Linked DNA regions of Homo sapiens: region 2 is linked to region 1. The links are contacts of gene promoters, found by promoter capture Hi-C in human tissues and cell types (Jung and others, 2019). All regions are on one chromosome and are shown on one strand. Each heading gives the region's core, a stretch centred on a gene start or on the middle of the fragment in contact. The rest is flanking DNA. Distances are from core to core; before and after follow the strand shown. Region 1 holds the start of CEBPG (CCAAT enhancer binding protein gamma). Region 2 overlaps ZNF507 (zinc finger protein 507).

Evidence for each region. Contacts are between HindIII fragments. The study calls those that stand out against the background at their distance.
Region 2: a contact is called between a fragment that was not itself captured here and the fragment with the promoter of CEBPG in region 1, in 1 of the 25 tissues and cell types used here (aorta).

Annotation. Positions count from the first base shown.
Region 1 is chr19:33,371,992-33,375,402 of GRCh38, forward strand. CEBPG (CCAAT enhancer binding protein gamma) reads left to right here and starts at 1,718. Exons shown (of 2, transcript NM_001806.4): 1 at 1,718-1,904. RefSeq lists a silencer at 1,505-2,314. The HindIII fragment of the contact is 10,998 bases long and covers 1-3,411 here.
Region 2 is chr19:32,360,239-32,363,649 of GRCh38, forward strand. ZNF507 (zinc finger protein 507) reads left to right here. Exons shown (of 7, transcript NM_001136156.2): 5 at 266-380. Among named protein-coding and RNA genes, the nearest start is that of ZNF507, 16 kb to the left of the region's middle. The HindIII fragment of the contact is 4,607 bases long and covers 1-3,411 here.

The DNA.
Region 1 (3,411 bases), core at 468-2,967:
CAACGTGAAGAAACACACTTGTTTCAATGACACTTATTCTCCTAAGTGTGCATCTGTGAGCATTATTACCTGTTTTTTTTTTTTTGGAGACAGGGATCTCATTCTGTGGCTCAGGCTGGAGTGCAGTGGCTCAATCTCAGCTCACTGCAACCTCCGCCTCTCAGGCTCAAGCCATCCTCCCATCTCAGACTCCAGAGTAGCTGGGACCACAGGCACAGCGCCACCACACCCGGCTAATCTTCTGTATTTTTGGTAGAGATGGGGTTTTTCCATGTTGCCCAGGCTGGTCTCTAATTCCCGACCTGAAGTGATCAGCCTGCCTCGGCCTCGCAGAGTGCTGGGATTACAGACCTGAGCCACCGCGCCCAGCCCATTGTTCACCGTTGTGACCCCTTTTAATTTTTATTTATTGCTTTATCATCTTACTGATTCCTCGAAACAATCTTACGGGGCGAGCCGGTTCCATGGGCGCTGAAGAAACATTTCCTCTTTCAAAGCCTCAATTGTTTGAACGATACGCGTTGCTAAAGAGGAAGCAATTAAACCTATCAGGCGAGTTCTGCCCTCCGCCCAGCGAGCTGCTGCTTCCTGGTGTTAAAACGCTTTCGGGGCCAGGCGCGGTGGCTCACGCCTGTAATCCCAGCACTTTGGGAGGCCGAGGCGGGCGGATCACGAGGTCAGAAGATCGAGACCATCCCGGCTAAAACGGTGAAACCCCGTCTCTACTAAAAAAATACAAAAAATTAGCCGGGCGTAGTGGCGGGCGCCTGTAGTCCCAGCTACTTGGGAGGCTGAGGCAGGAGAATGGCGTGAACCCGGGAGGCGGAGCTTGCAGTGAGCCGAGATTGCGCCACTGCACTCCAGCCTGGGCGACAGAGCGAGACTCCGTCTCAAAAAAAAAAAAAAAAAAAACGCTTTCGGGTTCTCCTGGCGAGTTTTAAGTCACACTGGATCGCTGCTTATTTTCAGAGATCACCTCGCACCCATGCACCTGGAAGGCACCCAAAGAGAATCATTTTAAGAAATTCACTTCATCTCACCCTAACAACAAAGCACAGCCTGCAGCACATGGATTTCACCCATGTGACATCAATGCTAATCCTATGTGTGAAACATCTGGGTTCATTCGATTTTTTAAAAATTAGTAACTGAGATGGGGTCTCGCTATGTTGTCCAGGCTGGTTCTCCAACGCCTGGGCTCAAGCCATTCTCCCGCCTCGGCCTCCCTCGGCGCTGAGATTATAGGCGGGAGCCACCGCGTCAGCCTCCACTCTTTTTGCGGCGACAAAGCCCGCCCGCCTGCGGGGCGTTCCGTTCGCAGAAACTCTGTGAGGGACGCCGCGGGGGCTTCCAAGGGACGCGGCGAAACCAAAACAGTCGCCGGTGGTTCACAAAACCACCTCAGAAAATGCTTCCAAAGGCACGTCTGGCCTCCACAAGGTGACGGCTTTTCAGCCTCCGACTCGAACTTGAGTCGTCCACAGCACTAGGCCGCCGCCAGCCCGGGCGAGCTGCCTAGGGACCGCGGACGCCGCAGCAAGCAGCTCCCTGCTCCCGCCACACCCGCCGAGCCAGCCGCGCGGAACCCACTCCCCCACCGTGGGCCCGCCTCCCGCCGCCAGCCTGCCCACGATTGGTCGACTGGGCTGCCCGTCGCGAGAGAAGGCGGTGCCTCCGGCAGGCCGGCGCTCCCATTGGCCGGGATGGCGGCGGCGGCGCGCGCGGCCCCGGCGAGCAGGGGAAGCCGGTGGCCGCGGCTGCGGAACGGGCGGAGGCTGCCGGTTTCGTAACCGTCGCTCCTCCTCGCTGACTCGCGGGCTGTGAGGCCTGGGTCGGCTCGGGCCGCACCGCGCGGGGCCGCTCGGAGTGGAGGCCGCCTGGGGGCAGGCGGGCTAGAGGAGCAGGTAAGGAGGCTGCGGCGGGCGCCCTGAGAACGGGGAGGAGGAGGCCGCGGCGACGCCGGCCGCTCGACTGGGTGCGGGCCCGGCTCGGGGAAACCCAGCCCCGGCCCCAGACGGCCCGCTGGCCCGGGAAGGCCACGCGAGGCTGGAGGCGCGGGCGGCGGCGCCGCGCGGCGTCTGATGCAACCTGCCGGCAACACCCGGCGGGGACGCTGAGCTCATTCCTGGCCGCGGCCCAGCGCTGCGGCGCCGCCCGTCGACCCCCGCGCTGCCCGGGGCGCCCCTCGCGGCGGGCCGGGAGCGCGCGAACGGCCGGGGAATGCCCCCTGCGGAGCCCGGCCCCCTCTCGGTGAAACGGGCGCTGTGACCCGCCAGGCTCGCATTGGCCCCTGGGGATGAAGGGTGTTCCCAGAATAGCAGAAGGTGGACCGAGTCGAGCTTTAGAATCCTGATCTTCTAGAAGGGCTCAGCTTGCGGTGATCGAAAATCTGTTCAGAAGTTCAAAGACTGATCAATAAAATAGGGAAAGCAACTGGTTTTTAAATGCATGACTTTGCAGAGATAATATTTTGCTTCTTTGTGGAGCTGTTGGAATGTCCTGCACTTTACTGTTGAACGTAGTTTAGAAGAACACGCAACACCTACGGGTCGAATAGAGAAGAAATGAAGCACTTCGCAGGCATAGTTGGAGGGAGCGGAGCAGGGCCGACAGCCAGCGGAGGTGACCAGATGCGAAGGATGGAAATGCATGTGTCGCGGGGGGAGGAGAGTGTTTTCCAGGGCAGCTGGTGTGTTGCTTCTCTTCCGCAGGTTTACGTGTTGGGTTTTCCTCTTGTTTGAAGTTTATACTGTAATCTGGCATCCTGAAATGTATAAGATTTAGAAAGGTCTCAATGTTGATGGGTGACACCAAAATTGGTAGTTGTGTCAGAATTGACTGCTTATATGAATAGGTTGTCACTTAAGGCAGACTTCTCCCAAAGAAATGTGACTCCCAGAGAAAATTTTAAAAGAAAATCCTATAAGGGCTTGCTTTACGAAGACATTCTACACCTAGAAGCTCTTGATATTTAAGATGTGGTCATCTGTTAGCCCTTGAGTAGTATTTGGGATAAGCTGTTCATAAGGTCGATTCTGCTTCTGGAAAAAGTTGCTGTAAACAAGGCTAAATAATTACAGGGTACAAGGGAGCTGAAGCATATTTCAGCTTCTTGATTCCTGCTTTTGGTGGGCACACTTGGCTGGTTCAGTTATTTTTAATACCTGCTTTTAAAAAAAGTAGATGGAAACAAAACTTCATTGAGAATATCCTTTAAATTCTCAAGATCACATCATGTCTGTCTGCAAGGCTGTCTGATCTTGGAGAGATGGTTTCATCCCTGGGAAATTAAACACTATGTGCTGAGCCCCTGGTAAAGACAAATAGGACCTCGTGGGGCTGAATTTGGTCTCGTGGTCTAAGATTGCCTCACTTGGTCACAGTAATGGTAAATACAGGTAGCCACGATTC
Region 2 (3,411 bases), core at 333-2,832, 1.0 Mb before region 1:
ACTTAGAATATTGTACATGGTTATGCAGGAATCATCCCAACCTATCTGTGTTTATAGGTCAGATGATGTTCAGTTTATATCTGCTGATAGTGTATATGCAGGAAAACCTATAAAACCACTTCAGACTTGTTAAAACAGTGAGAAAGCCGTGATTGAAATATTAATACAACTGTGTGGTATAAATTTTCATTTACAATGGAATGTAAATGCTGTCATTTGAATCTTGTCAAAGCCTGCTACTAAAACTCTGAAATACCTTGTCTAGGGAATAAGTCTTCAGTCCAGAAACAATATAGATGTGATGTGTGTGATTATACAAGTACAACATATGTTGGTGTCAGAAACCACAGGCGAATCCATAACTCTGATAAGCCGTACAGGTAAGTGTTATGATTCTAGAATTTTAATGTTTGTATTAAAATATTTTATATTAAAGAAATAAAATGAAATAAAAATGTATAGCACTTACTGAAACACAGGTTAAGAAGTAAGAAATTTTCACTAATTGGTTTTATATTTTGTTGTTTTATATATTTACTTATTTATTTTTTGAGTCAGTGTCTTGCTGTATTGCCCAGGCTGGAGTGCAGTGGTATGATCACAGCTCACTGCAGCCTCGAACTCCTGGCCTCAAGGGATCCTCCCACATCAGCCTCCCAAAGTGCTGGGATTGCAGGCGTGAGCCACTGCACCTGGCTGGTATTATGTCTTGTTTGATTTGTTAAGATGTGAACTTTAAGCTTGAATCTTAGGACAGTAGGCATTTTGTCTAGTTGATACATAGGAAATTGTCTTTATCTGTCAATTTTATGTTTTCATTTCATATGGGTATAAATTTCATAGCAATTTTCAATGCCTTAGAGTTCATTTCAGTAATTTGGCAGTAAGGTACTCAGTATTCAGCAAAAGATCCTTAAAACTTAAAGGCAATAAAATTTTCTATGAAAGAGTCCATTTTTCAAAATTAAGCTAGTATGTGTAGAATAAGTCATTTAATTTCATTACTTGATTTTTCCCAAAAGCAAATTCAGATATATATTTCAGAAAATATAGGCATTCTCAGTGATAGTGCTAGGCAATGCGCATGAACTTTCACCCCCTTGTCAAAACTTAGCAGGTTTAACTCTCTCCCCAGATTCTGTAGATATGATACAAGTGAGTGTGGGAAAGTTATTGTATTAATCTCAATGAAAACCTGACAGATTGTGCCATAAAAGGTCATTGTTTAATCCCAAAGTGTGGTGATCTGTGTATGGTTTCGAATATTTAATATGTGCTTAATTTGCAAACCAGCAGACTTACTTATAATCACTCTTCAGAAAGTACATCTGTTTGCAGAGTCTTAAAACTCTGTGGAAGGTGTTTGACCTTGCCTCAGTCCTCCTCAGTGTCTTCCTTCCTTCCTTCTTTCCTTCCTTCCTTCTTTTCTTCCTTCCTTCCTTTCCTTCCTTCCTTTCCTTCCTTTCCTTCCTTCCTTTCCTTTCTTCCTTTCCTTCCTTTCCTTTCCTTCCTTTCCTTTTCTTCCCTCCCTCCCTCTCTCCCTCCCTCCTTCCTTCCTTTCCTTCCTTCGTTTCCTTCCTTCCTTTCCTTTCTTCCTTTCCTTTCTTCCTTTCCTTCCTTCCTTTCCTTCCTTTCCTTTCCCTCCCCTCCCTCCCTCCCTCCCTCCTTCCTTCCTTCCTTCCTTCCTTTTTTTCTTTGACAGAGTCTCGCTCTGTCATCACCCAGGCTGGAGTGCAGTGGAGTGATCTCACCTCACGGCAACCTCCGCCTCCCGGGTTCAAGTGATTCTCATGCCTCAGCCTCCCAAGTAGCTGGGACCACAGGCATGTGCCATGATTAGCTAATTAGAGACGGGGTTTCGCCAGGTCTTGAACTCCTGGCCTCAAGTGTCCGCCCACCTTGGCCTCCCAAAGTGCTGGGATTACATGGTTACACCATGTCCAATCAGTCTATTTAATAGGTGGGACTGAGTATATTTACATTCGTGATTTATACTGGGAAATGTTTAGGAGAATGTGATGGAAACAGGGAACACTAGTTTACCTGATAGGAGGAGAAAGCTTTGCCTTTATATTTTTGGTATCCTTGAATTTAGACATACCGTGCCAGATTCATGTGATTTAAGTAAGAAGAAAATAACATTTCTCCGGGTCCAGAATTAGATTGTTCTTTCATTCATGGAGAAATATTTATTGAGCAAATATTATGCTTCAGGGGCCGTGCTAGATTCTTGGACTACAGTCATAACAAAACAGACGTCATCTTTGCTGTCATGGAACTTGTAGACAAACAATAAGCAAGTAAACCCTCAAATACTTAGGAAAAAGGTTAGCGATTCTAGTTCTGTTGAAGGTTTTACATCTGCTTTATTAGATCAGTCTTGCAGCTTAAAGATTCATTTTGATAGCTGTCAGTGTCTCAGGGATGTTTTCTTGTGTTCTTAAAATATTCACAGATTCATAGGATTCATTGCAGTTGTCCTAGGGTCTTCCTACCAACGGGCAACATCCCGTGAGCATCCTCTTTGTGTAACATCAGAGAACTCTCAGTCTGTTATTTTCCAAATTTATTCACACTCCACTTTGTCACTGGGTTTGGTGTGGTTATGCCTTAGATACAGTTTTGTCATATCTCCCTCTTTGTACTTATTATCAGTTTTTCCTCATAAGTCTTATTTTCTAATGTCATGGCTCTCCTTTTAACTTTCTTTAAATACTCACCATCCTTTGCCTTCATGGGATTTCTGGTCGCAGAGCATTACGGATTAACATGTTCTATTCCAGGATGTTTCTAGGACTTTCTCCTCGTTGTCCTATACTGTGTGCTTTAAGCGGAGCTGGTAGCGTAGCCTTTATAATGTCTGACTTAATTCAAGGATCACAGGAGTTTCTCTGGCTCATTTCATGTCTGCTTCATTCAGTTTCGTTGCCTGGTGCACTTATGGTCAGAGTTTGGGCTTGGTTTCTCAGAGTTCATGCCATATCCTATGCATTTCTGATTCCCTACATTTTGTTAAGAAACATGCTCACAGGCAGCAGTAATGAGTTCTTAAAGAGCTACAAGGCCTTGTTGCACAACTTCTAAACTTTGCACAAGGGCACAAAAGATTTATTGTTTATTTTAGTGTGCCTATTACATAACAAGTTTTCTGTAGTGGTGAAACCTGTTCCTTTCTCGTGCTTTTGCTTTTTATGCTGTCATTCCAGTCCTTCAATGACCCCATCCTTGTGGTCTGGGCAGTACGGCTTCATGGATCCCTGGTTCTGGGGGCAGATAGTCCTGGGATTGAATCTGAGCTCTCCCACTTGTGAGATTTGTGATCTTGCGCAAACTGTTTCACCTCTCTGTGCTGCTTTTGTCGTTAATAGAATGAGGATATTAAGGTTGTGAGGGTGAAATAAAATACCTAAG